3 separate regions of the Homo sapiens genome follow, and all the other regions are linked to region 2. The links are contacts of gene promoters, found by promoter capture Hi-C in human tissues and cell types (Jung and others, 2019). All regions are on one chromosome and are shown on one strand. Each heading gives the region's core, a stretch centred on a gene start or on the middle of the fragment in contact. The rest is flanking DNA. Distances are from core to core; before and after follow the strand shown. Region 1 holds the start of SNORA30 (small nucleolar RNA, H/ACA box 30). Region 2 holds the start of PPP4C (protein phosphatase 4 catalytic subunit). Region 3 has its middle 17 kb from the start of FBRS.

Region 1 (3,780 bases), core at 573-3,072, 640 kb before region 2:
GAGGTGGGAGGATCTCTTGAGCCCAGGTGTTCAAGGTCAGCTTGGGTAACATAGTGAGACCCCATCTTTATTTTTACAAAAAATTAAAAAATTTTTTTTAAAAAAGAAAGAGGAGAGAAAGGAATTCACCTGAGGAAAGGGCTTAAAAATAAAGGAGGCATCAATGGGAGGAAAGTGACCACATGAAACATCGAACCTGCCGCTTGAGCTTCCTCTCTTTCTGGGCTCCATAGTAAGTGAGGATTTTAAAGCTGGGGCACCACCGTTTCAACTCCATCTCCCAGTTCAACATCACGCTGGTGGGAACAATGATTAAATGGGGACCCCAGTTACCTGTTAGGCAAAAAAATCAGAGATGGTAAGGAAATGTAAATTCTGTGGTTCTGATTTCTCAGTTATAACCCTGGCCACCCTTTGGCCCTTCCTAGGAATCCTAGCACCTACACTGTCCTCTCTATACAGTTAATGACCGGAGTCAATAAAGCAAAAGTCAATGAAGCTGGAGTCATCACTGAACAAGCTCCCAGGGAGCTAGACTAGGGGGAACAAAAGAAGGGGCCTTGCCTACTTACCTTTCTCACAAGCCAAGTGGGCAAGCAGAGAGATGGTCTGGATGGTCTTCCCAAGCCCCATCTCATCAGCAAGAATGCCATTAAGCTTCTTCTCATACATGGTAACCAGCCAGTCTAGCCCAATGTGCTGGTACTCCCGGAGCTGGCCCCGCAGAAGCAGGGGAATGGGCGTCTTTACCTGTCAGAGAGGAAATATAGGTAACACAATGGAAATGAGGCATTTGTTGTGGGGACATGAGAAAGTCAAGACATGAGAAAGGAGAGGCCAGAACCTGGGGATACCTGGGTCGTGGCCAGCGTGTAACCCTTGGGCTGGAGACTTTCAGCTGCTGCAGCAATGTCAGTAATTTCTTTCTTTGGACCTAGAGTAGTGGGCCCTGGAGTAGGAGGCCCACTGCCTGCATCTGCCTCACTCTGCTCTTCATCCCTGGCAAGCAAGTACTCCACCCCAAAATCATCATCTTCCTCCTCTTCATCTGCTTGGCTCTGTGATTGGGCATCCTCAGACTCTTCAGACTCAGATTCCTCTGATGCTGAACTTCCACTTGTTTCTTCCTCCTCTGAATGTTCATCTTCCTCATCCTCACTCCGGTCCTCCACAGAGTCTAAAGGGTAAGACCAAGGCTTACTGCTCATCATACCTGCTCTTCCAATGGCCACCCTCCCCAGCTCCTGCTTCATGACCACATATTCACCTGACTGACTGCTACTATCCTCCTGAGGAGGCTCTTCCGCTTCCACGGGCCCCTCTGGTTCACAGTCAGAGCTATTAGCATCAACCTCATCTTCATCCTCATCTTCACTGCTCCCAGAGCCTGGGGCATAGGCTCCTGCATACTGCTGCAATAGCTCCTCCATGGAAAGCTCACCTGGAAGAGAAACAAAAAGCTTTTGGTTGCTCTGAGGGGAGGGAGAAGGGGAGGTCTGAGTAGTACCAGTTAATTTTACCTAGGTCTCTGTAGATACTGCTAGGCCCAGGTCTGAGGGGAGGCAAAAGAGCTTACTTTCAGCATCAGCTAGCAAAGCCAAGCCCCACAACCTGGGGGAAGTACCATGGGAATTGGGAAGAACATTATCAACCTGGTGAGCCTCTCAAGGTCCAGGTCAAATGCTGTCAGTATCTTCCTACATTAGCTCTTCCCTCCATTTCACTCCCACATCACCATTTAAACTTCTATCATAAGCACTCATCACTTTCTACTTATCATTACTGGTTTACAAGTCTGTCTTAGTCATTAGACATGGAATTCCTCCAGGGTGGATACAAAGTGCCTTATTCATCTCTTTATCCTTGGTACTGCACACCGCAGACACCAAGTGGATGCTTAGTAAAATGTCTGGTAAATGTCACCTTCTCGAGCCAACTCGCTCAGCTCCATGGCATGATCCACCTCCCCTTCCAACTGTTCCTCAGCTGCTATAGTATCCTCTTCATCCTCCGCTAGGAAAGAGACAGAAGCAAGATTAATAGGGATAGAGGCTAGAGGCACAGGACACAGTCCAAATGAAACAGATGAGAAAGCCTGAAAGGTTAGGTCCAGACAATTCATTCAAGGGGTAAGGGGCAATAGGACAAACCGAACAGCCCTGACCTTCCTCTTCGTTGGCAGTAAACTCTTCATCATCTTCATCTGGATGCCAAGGCTGTTTGTTGCGCTGTGTGACAGCAGAGGGTGGGGGCTTTATCTGTATGGCAAAAGATAAAAAAGGGAAGGGTCTAAGGTTACAGTAGCAGAAGAATGGCACAAACTTGAAAAAGGTGTCACAGGAGAATCACTGTCCCATTGAGTGACAGTTGCCACTGGTATAATCCCAGGGCAAGAATACAATCAAGGGTTTTCTCTCAGCACCAGCTACCAAATCCTGGCCCCACTGCCTGGGGAAGGAACTGTGAAAGTGCCAGGTAACAAATAAAGGCACCCAACACTTCCCCATGCACTTGAGACATATGGAGAAACAGAAAAGACTTAAGGGTACCATGCCAGCTTCCAACCTGTAAGCCAATAAGGGAACATTAGGGCATGTTCAGAGAAGTGGCAAGTAACGGTCAGAGGAAGTACTTTTTCAAGACCACACAGCAATTTAAAGAGGAAAGTGCAATACGCTCTTCCACTATAGCGCCAAAACCTGCCAATCACAAAATGCAACTTGCCCCAAACAGATTCTTCCCCAGTCATCCCCAAAGAGCCCAAATGTCCATTACTAGCAGAACTCCTAAAACTCATAACCAACCTCACAGCCCGGAACTCAGACCCTGAACCTCTCCCTCTGTTCCCCCTCTGAACCCTCCCTCTGCTCCTTCTGCCTATACCTCCAACACCTGAGGGGGCTCTTCTTCAGCACCTTCTTCAGGCCCATCTCGGGTGTCACTATCATGAGATGAGGGGGTTTGAGAGGGGCTGGAAGGCCCTTCCAACAGCTGAGGGGGAAGGGAACGGAGCAGCTCTTCCAGTGGCAATTCTCCCTCACGGCGAAGCAGCTCAATCTCACGCCTCTGGGCCTCTGCATCATTGCCTTCCTGTTGTTCTTCAACTTCAATCGTTTCCTCATCATCCTCTTCCTCATCCTCTTGGGGTTGAAAGTCCCCATCTATAGCAGGAGAACAAGGTCACAAAGTCCACGGGCCCTGCAAGCCACAGGGTGGGTTTTTCAGCTCTGGAAAGGGTACATGAGGAAGAGTAACAGGACCAAAGAGAACACACACCTTCATCATCCAGGCGAGAAGCAGGGGGTGGAGGACTGGAGGCAGCTGAGGAAGAGCCGAGGCAAGGGGAAGAGCCTGCTTTGCTGGAGGTTAATGGCTGGTTGAGGCTCTGAGACAGAAGGTCCGAGTACTTTTCAGTTTGCCCCACAATGAAGTCCAAATGCAGGTCCAGGGCTTTTTTGCGCTTTTCCTCAAGCCGGGACTGTTGCTTGAATTGCACCACCTGCCACAGATGTGAAAGGGACTGCTCACCAAGATAACCATTTTATTTATGTACTTTTACCCGATGTTTAGGGAGACCTTCTTTAACCAGATCCTGGGCTGGCCTCTTAGGAAAGTAAAACTAAATAACCTTAGGGGCTCACTATGGTCTAAAGGAAGCACAAAGGGAGCATGCAGGAAGAAGAGCCAGCTTCGCCTCAGGTGGAGGGAAGGTTTGCAATCTGAAGCTGGATTTTTTTTTTTTTTTAAAGAGATGAGATCTCACTATGTTGGCCAGACTAG
Region 2 (3,423 bases), core at 251-2,750:
CCTTCCCTCACTGGCCCTGCCTCCATCAGCTAGCCAAATTATCTTCATCCTTCAAGGCCTACCTCCACTCAAAAGCCCTCCCTGATGGCTTTAGCCCATCTCATTATTGCCCTCTTCCAAAAGAAATAGAATACCTGGTGATTATCAAGCACGTATGCTGTACCAAAACACTGTGCTAACCTCATCTCCAGCACCAACTCACTGAATCTTCACAATCATCTTATTAAGTACTATTAATTCTGCTTTACAAATAAAGACACTTAAGATTACTAACACAGCTAGAAAGCGGCAGAGTTCAGATTCAAACCTAGAGCCATCTCACACTGCAAAACCTAGAGCCTTAACCACTACATCATCCTACTTCCCACAGAACTCTGAACTGGCCTCCCTATCGTGCTTAATTCTACCCTGGCTTACTTGCTACGATTTCTCAGGCTCCCACCCTGAACGTGAATGATCCAACTCCACCTTTTTGCATTATGGCCTGAAAAAGGACAGGACACTAAGAGCTGGCTTCAGACCCCATTCCTTACTTGTGGGTAACTTTGAACATGAAAGTTCCCACCTGTAAAATGAGTACAATACCACCAATCTTTAAGGGTTGTTGTAATTAGAAGACTTTTATAAATCACAGGGTCTTTAACTTTCCTGTCTTAAACTTTTGGTTTTTGGCTGACTCTTTTACCACCTCCTTATTCGAGGCCTCTCCCACAGTTCGGCCCCCCTCCAACAAGCTTCCGTCCCCCGACAGATGGACTTGTTTCCTTGAGTTTCCTAAGTACTTTATGTAACACTCTTACTCCACTGGAAACACATCGTCTAATAAACTTTAAGTGTCTTTATCCACTCTGTCTTCCCCGAGCAGGCTAGCTTTTCCTCGAGGGCAGCGGCTCCATCCTGCTCCTCTCTGGGAAAGCTTCCAGAACGAGGCAAGCCCAAAGTTCTCAGTTGGGTTTGCCCCAGGCCAGAACCCGTGGGCGGCGGCTTGGCCTCCCTTCCCCAGGGCCAACGAGCTCACCTGGCCTTAGCGCACAGGGCCTTGACTTCGCTCTCCTTGATGAGCTCGCAGCGACGCAGCTGCTCGATCTGCCGGTCCAGGTCGCTGATCTCCGCCATGGCCCACCCCCGGCGCGGGTCAGAGTCGGGGCCGCCGCCCCCTCCGCACCGCACAGGGGTCTCCTGGGAAAGGCCAAGACGAGCCCGCGGATCAGTGTCCGTCCGGGGCTCGGAGCGGACAACTCGATTCTAGAGCCGGCCCGGCTCCCCCACCCCCGCCTCCCCTCACATCGGCCCCAGGACCCCCCGGCGTCCAACGGCCTGGCCGCACCCCCGCTAACTCCCGTCGAACCCCGCGGTCCCGCGCTAAGGACGGTGACTTAGAGGAGTCTCGCACTATTACCGCCGCTGCGACTCCGGTTCCGGCTCTCCGGCTCCCTGCCTCCCTCTTTCACTCCGCTTTCGACCGCCGCCGCCGCCGCCGCCGCCGCTCCTACTTCCGGCCCCGCCGCGGAAGCAAAGGAGGCCAGTTCCGCCGCGCGCCGGATGTGGCGTCATACACGCTCCTCTCCTTTCGCAGCGACCCCTGCACCACTTCTCCAGCCTGAGATCGGGAAGGAGGTGGAGGAACCCGGTGGCGGCCAGTGGCAGTTTTGTGGGCTCTGCCGCTGGGCGATGTGGAGGCTATTAGAAACCCTAGACCAGTCCCCTCCCATATCATTTCATAAAAATGTTTAAACAACTGTCTTTTCTTTTTTTGAGACGGAGTTTTGCTGTTGCCCAGGCCGGGGTGCAATGGCACGAACTCGGCTCACCGCAACTTCCGCCTCCCGGGTTCCAGCAATTCTCCTGCCTCAGCCTCCTGAGTAGCTGGGATTACAGGCATGCGCTACCACGCTGGGCTAATTTTGTATTTTTAATAGAGACGGGGTTTCTCCATGTTGGTCAGGCTGGTCTCTAACTCCCTACCTCAGGTGATCCGCGCCCCCACCCACCACCACCCTTCGGCCTCCCAAAGTGCTGGGATTACAGGCGTGAGCCACCGCGCCCGGCCACAACTTTCTTTTTTCTAAATTAGAGACAGGGTCTCGCTCTATCGCTCAGGCTGGAGTCGGTGGGGCTATCATAGGTCACTGTGACCTCGAACTCCTGGGCACAAGCTATCTTCCCGCCTCGGGCCTCCCAAAGTGCTGGGATTACAGGCGTGAGCCACCGCGCCCGGCCATCCCCCATTTCAGCTAGGGAAACAAGCCGAGCTGGGGCTAGGCTTTGTAACTTTATTACACTTTTTTTTTTTAACATTACACTTTTTTTTTAATGTTACACATTTTTGTTACTTGTTTTGTCAGCCTTCCCCACCACAGTCCTTGGAGGATCCAACTTTGTCTTTTTAAATATTGCAGCCCCAGTGGTTAGAATAAGGCCTGGCACGGTAGGCATATATAGATACTTGTTAATACTTGTTCAATGGATGAGGGAAGCCAAGTTCAGATCTCTTCCTGTGCCGTCAGAGAAATATTTGCCGTGGACAACTTCAGAAGTTAACAGATTGGAGTCCACTTTTCCCACGCCAAGCCTGTGCCTCAGTCAGCATGACTTCTCTGATTCCAAAATGGCACTCTTGACATTTCTTAGTTGCTTCCGTTTTTCTTTTTGAGACAGAGTCTCACTCTCTCGCTCTGTCGCCCAGGCTGCAGTCCAGTGGCGCCATCTCGGCTCACTGCAAGCTCCGCCTCCCGGGTTCACGCCATTCTCTTGCCTCTGCCTCCTGAATAGCTGGGACTACAGGCGCCCGCCACCAGGCCCGGCTAATTTTTTTGTATTTTTTAGTGGAGACGGGGTTTCACCGTGTTAGCCAGGATGGTCTCGATCTCCTGACCTCATGATCCACCTGCCTCAGCCTCCCAAAGTGCTGTACCACAGGCGTGTACCACCGTGCCCGGCCTCTTTTTTTTTTTTTTTTTTTTTTTTTGAGACGGAGTCTTGCTTTTTCACCCCGACTGGAGTGCAGTGGCACAATCTCGGCTCACTGCAACCTCCGCCTCCCAGGTTCAAGCGATTCTCCTGCCTCAGCCTCCCAAGTAGCTGGGATTACAGGCATGTGCCACGACGCCTGGCTAATTTTTGTATTTTCATTTATTTATTTTTTTAAGACAGAGCCTTCCTTGCTCTTGTCGCCCAGGCGGGAGTGCAGTGGAGCGATTTTGGCAAACCGCAACCTCCGCCTCCTGGGTTCAAGCAATTCTCCTGCCTCAGCCACCTGAGTAGCTGGGATTACAAGCACCCGTCACCACGCCCAGCTAATTTTTGCATTTTTAATAGAGACGGGGTTTCACCATTTTGGTCAGGCTGGTCTCGAACTCCTGACCTCAGGTGATCCACTCTCCTCGGCCTCGGAAAGTGCTGGGATTACCAGCTTGAGCCACC
Region 3 (3,544 bases), core at 695-3,194, 600 kb before region 2:
TTCCTTCCTTTCTTTCTTTCTTTCTTTCTTTCTTTTATATTGTTGTTTTTGTTGTTGAGACGGAGTCTCACTCTGTCGCCTAGACTGGAGTTCAGTGGCGCCATCTCGACTCACTGCAAGCTCCACCTCCTGGGTTCAAGCGATTCTTCTGCCTTAGCCTCCGGAGTAGCTGGGACTACAGGCGCCCGCCACCACACCCGGGTAATTTTTTTTTTTTTTTTTTTAGTAGAGACAGGGTTTCACCATATTGGCCAGGCTGGTCTCAAACTCCTGACCTTGTGATCTGCCCTCCTCAGCCTCCCAAAGTGTTGGGATTATAGGCGTAAGCCACCGCTTTTTTCCGTTTTTTGAGAGTTTTGAAAACTCTCAAAAGTCAGGTGAGGAATGACATCACCTGACTTAGGTTTTAAAAGGACCACACAACTGCAAGGTCTGTGAATTGAGATATTACAACTCCCATGTTACTGGGGCATTTCCTATCATTAGACTGTTCTAACTGGAATATTTAAGGGTCTAGCCTGCTTGAAGGAAATCCGATGTGCAAAAATCCAGATAGAACTAACTTTTCCTGAGGGACTGGCAGTCATTGCAAATTGCTCAGTGTAGCAGGGGTAATGTGGTGATCCCAAGCCTCTGGGCCCTGCTTTCTTTCCGTTGGAAGGACTCATCACCCCAAAGCCCATCAGCTGCATCTCCACAGGTGCCTTCTGCTCACACAGGCACACACAACCATACAAAATGGGTGTTTCTGAATGTCTCCATGATTAGATAATGGCAGTGGTTGTACAACCCATCAGCTGCACCTCCAAGAGTGCCTTCTTCTGACACATGCACACATGGCCATAAAAAAATGGGTGTTTCTGAATGGCTCCAGAATTAGATAATGGCAATGGTTGTACGACTTTGTGAATATACGAAAACCACTGCAATGGCACACTTTAAAAGGTACATTTCATGGTATGTGAATTTTATGTCAGCAATAATAATAAAATAATAAAAATACTTCCAGAAATCCTGTTTGTCATAACACAAATGCTAGAAACAACTTAAATGTCTATCCACAGAGATCTGTGTTGTTTTTGTTTTTGTTTTTGAGACGAAGTCTCACTCTGTCGCCCAGGCTAGAGTGCAGTGGTGCGATCTTGGCTCACTGCAACCTCCACCTCCCGTTTTCAAGCAACTCATGCATCAGCCTCCCAAGTAGCTGGGATTACAGTCGTGCACCACTGTGCCCAGCTAATTTTTATATTTTTGTAGAGTCGGGGTTTCGTCATGTTGACCAGACTCGTCTTAAATTCCTGATCTCAGGTGATCCGCCTGCCTCGGCCTCCCAAAGTGCTGGGATTACAGGCGTGAGCCACTGCACCTGGCCATGTGTTTGGTTTTGTTTTTACATAAAGACGGGTCTTGAACTCCTGAGCTCCAGTGATCCTCCTGCCTCAGTTACTGACGTGCTGGGATTAGAGGCAAGAGCCATTGTGCTCAGCTCCCATCTCTACTTTTAAATAACAAACATGTATATGTATAACTTTCCTCTTCCTCTCTCTCTCTCTCTCTCTCTTCTCTCTCTCTCTTTCTTTCTTTCTTGACAAGGTCTTGCTCTGTCTCCCAGGCTGGAGTGCAGTGGTGCCATCATTGCTCACTGTAGCCTCAACCTCCTGGGCTCAAGTGATCCTCTTGCCTCAGTCTCCCAAGTAGCTGGGACTACAGGCGTGCGGCCGACACATCCTAATTTTTGTATTTTTCATAGAGACGGGGTTTTACCATGTTGCTCAGGCTGGTCTCGAACTCCTGGGCTCAAGGGCCTGCCTCGGCCTGAGTGAGGAAGGGACTTCGGGGTTTTACCGTGTTGCCCAGGCTGGTCTCAAGCTCCTGCCTCAGGCAATCCGCCCACCTCGGCCTCCCAAAGTGCTAGGATTACAGGCGTGGGCCACCACACCCAGCCACATATACTAAAACATTATACAGAGGTCAGCATGGCCCCTTAGCAAGGATGACTTGCAAATTCGTGAAGCTTTCCATATTTTTGTGATTATTATACATTGCATGATTGTATCAAAATATCTTGTAACACATAAATATATACGCTTACTATGTACCCAGAAAAATTAAAAATGAATTTTTTTCTTTTTTGAGATGGAGTCTGGCTCTGTCGCTCAGGCTGGAGTGCAATGGAGCGATCCTGGCTCACTGCAACCTCCACCTCCCAGGTTCAAGTGATTGTCCTGCCTCAGCCTCCTGAGTAGCTGGGATTACAGGTGTGTGCCACCACACCTGGCTAATTTTTTTTTTTTTTTTTTGAGATGGAGTCTCTCACTCTCGCCCAGGCTAGAGTGCAGTGGCGCCATCTCGGCTCACTGCAAGCTCCACCTCCCGGGTTCACGCCATTCTCCTGCCTCAGCCTCCCGAGTAGCTGGGACTACAGGCACCCGCCACCATGCCCGGCTAATTTTTTGTATTTTTAGTAGAGACGGGGTTTCACCATGTTAGCCAGGATGGTCTTGATCTCCTGACCTTGTGATCCTCCTGCCTCGGCCTCCCAAAGTGCTGGGATTACAGGCGTGAGCCACCGCGCCTGGCAATTTTTGTATTTTTATAATAGAGACAGGGTTTCACCATGTTGGCCAGGCTGGTCTCGAACTCCTGACCTCAGGTGATCTGCCTACTTCAGCCTCCCAAAGATTACAGGCAGAGACGGCACGCCTGGCCCTTGGAATTCTGTCATTAGCTTCTGTAATTGTCCTCTTTCATAGTCCAATGTAAGCTCCAGGATGGCTGGGGTTTGTTTTGTGTACCTCTGTATCCCCAGCCACTAAGTGCAGTGCCTGGCACTGTGGATGAAGTCAACAGTGGTTGAAAGAATCAAAGGCAGCTCAGAAACTGCATCAAGTGAGGGAAGAGGGAGGTTTCTGACTTGAGTGCTGATGACACAGAGATGGAAACCTTGGGGGAAGTGGGGCATCAGATCTCGAAGATGACTTAATTTGGGATATCTGAGGTGCTTGGGGAGAGATCTAGGAGAGGTGGGATAGGCATGTCTAGAAAATATTTAACTCTACTGGGCACGGTGGCTCACGCCTGTAATCCCGGCATTTTGGGAGGCTGAGGCGGGCGGATCACCTGAGGTCAGGAGTTCGAGACGAGGCTGGCCAACATTTAGTGTGACTCCTGTCTCTACTAAAAATACAAAAAATTAGCCAGGCATGGTGTTGCATGCCTGTAATCCCAGCTACTTGCGAGGCTGAGACAGGAGAATCGCTTGAATCTGGGAGGCGCAGGTTGCAGTGACCTGAGATTGTGCCACTGCACTCCAGCCTGGACAACAGAGCAAGACTCTGTCTAAAAAAAAAAAAAAGAGAGAGAGAAAGAAAGAAAATATTTCACTGAGAGTCACTCTCAAATGCCTATAGGGGCCAGAGAGGTAGCCTGAATAGTGACTGTGGTCTACTCCAAGACAACAAGTGGAGGGGACAGTCGCAATCTGGTGAGATTATGCCCCATTTCAAAGGAAAGCCATGGGGGTAAGCAGGTCTAGTGACCACAG

Evidence for each region. The method cuts DNA at HindIII sites, captures the fragments that hold promoters and counts their contacts. A contact is called where the count stands out against the background at its distance.
Region 1: a contact is called between a fragment that was not itself captured here and the fragment with the promoter of PPP4C in region 2, in 2 of the 25 tissues and cell types used here (bladder and spleen).
Region 3: a contact is called between a fragment that was not itself captured here and the fragment with the promoter of PPP4C in region 2, in 1 of the 25 tissues and cell types used here (spleen).

Annotation. Positions count from the first base shown.
Region 1 is chr16:30,709,232-30,713,011 of GRCh38, reverse strand. SRCAP (Snf2 related CREBBP activator protein) reads right to left here. Exons shown (of 34, transcript NM_006662.3): 7 at 3,277-3,499; 8 at 2,884-3,161; 9 at 2,165-2,258; 10 at 1,924-2,013; 11 at 1,268-1,441; 12 at 855-1,177; 13 at 573-750; 14 at 197-333. It overlaps SNORA30 (small nucleolar RNA, H/ACA box 30), which reads right to left and starts at 2,475; the gene lies at 2,347-2,475. The HindIII fragment of the contact is 4,122 bases long and covers 1-3,780 here.
Region 2 is chr16:30,074,071-30,077,493 of GRCh38, reverse strand. PPP4C (protein phosphatase 4 catalytic subunit) reads right to left here and starts at 1,500. Exons shown (of 9, transcript NM_002720.3): 1 at 1,400-1,500; 2 at 1,019-1,179. The coding sequence starts at 1,116. RefSeq lists enhancers at 887-976, 2,599-2,778 and a silencer at 1,087-1,226. The HindIII fragment of the contact is 17,066 bases long and covers 38-3,423 here.
Region 3 is chr16:30,673,784-30,677,327 of GRCh38, reverse strand. It overlaps the pseudogene RNU6-416P. Among named protein-coding and RNA genes, the nearest start is that of FBRS, 17 kb to the right of the region's middle. RefSeq lists an enhancer at 1-477. The HindIII fragment of the contact is 5,104 bases long and covers 1-3,544 here.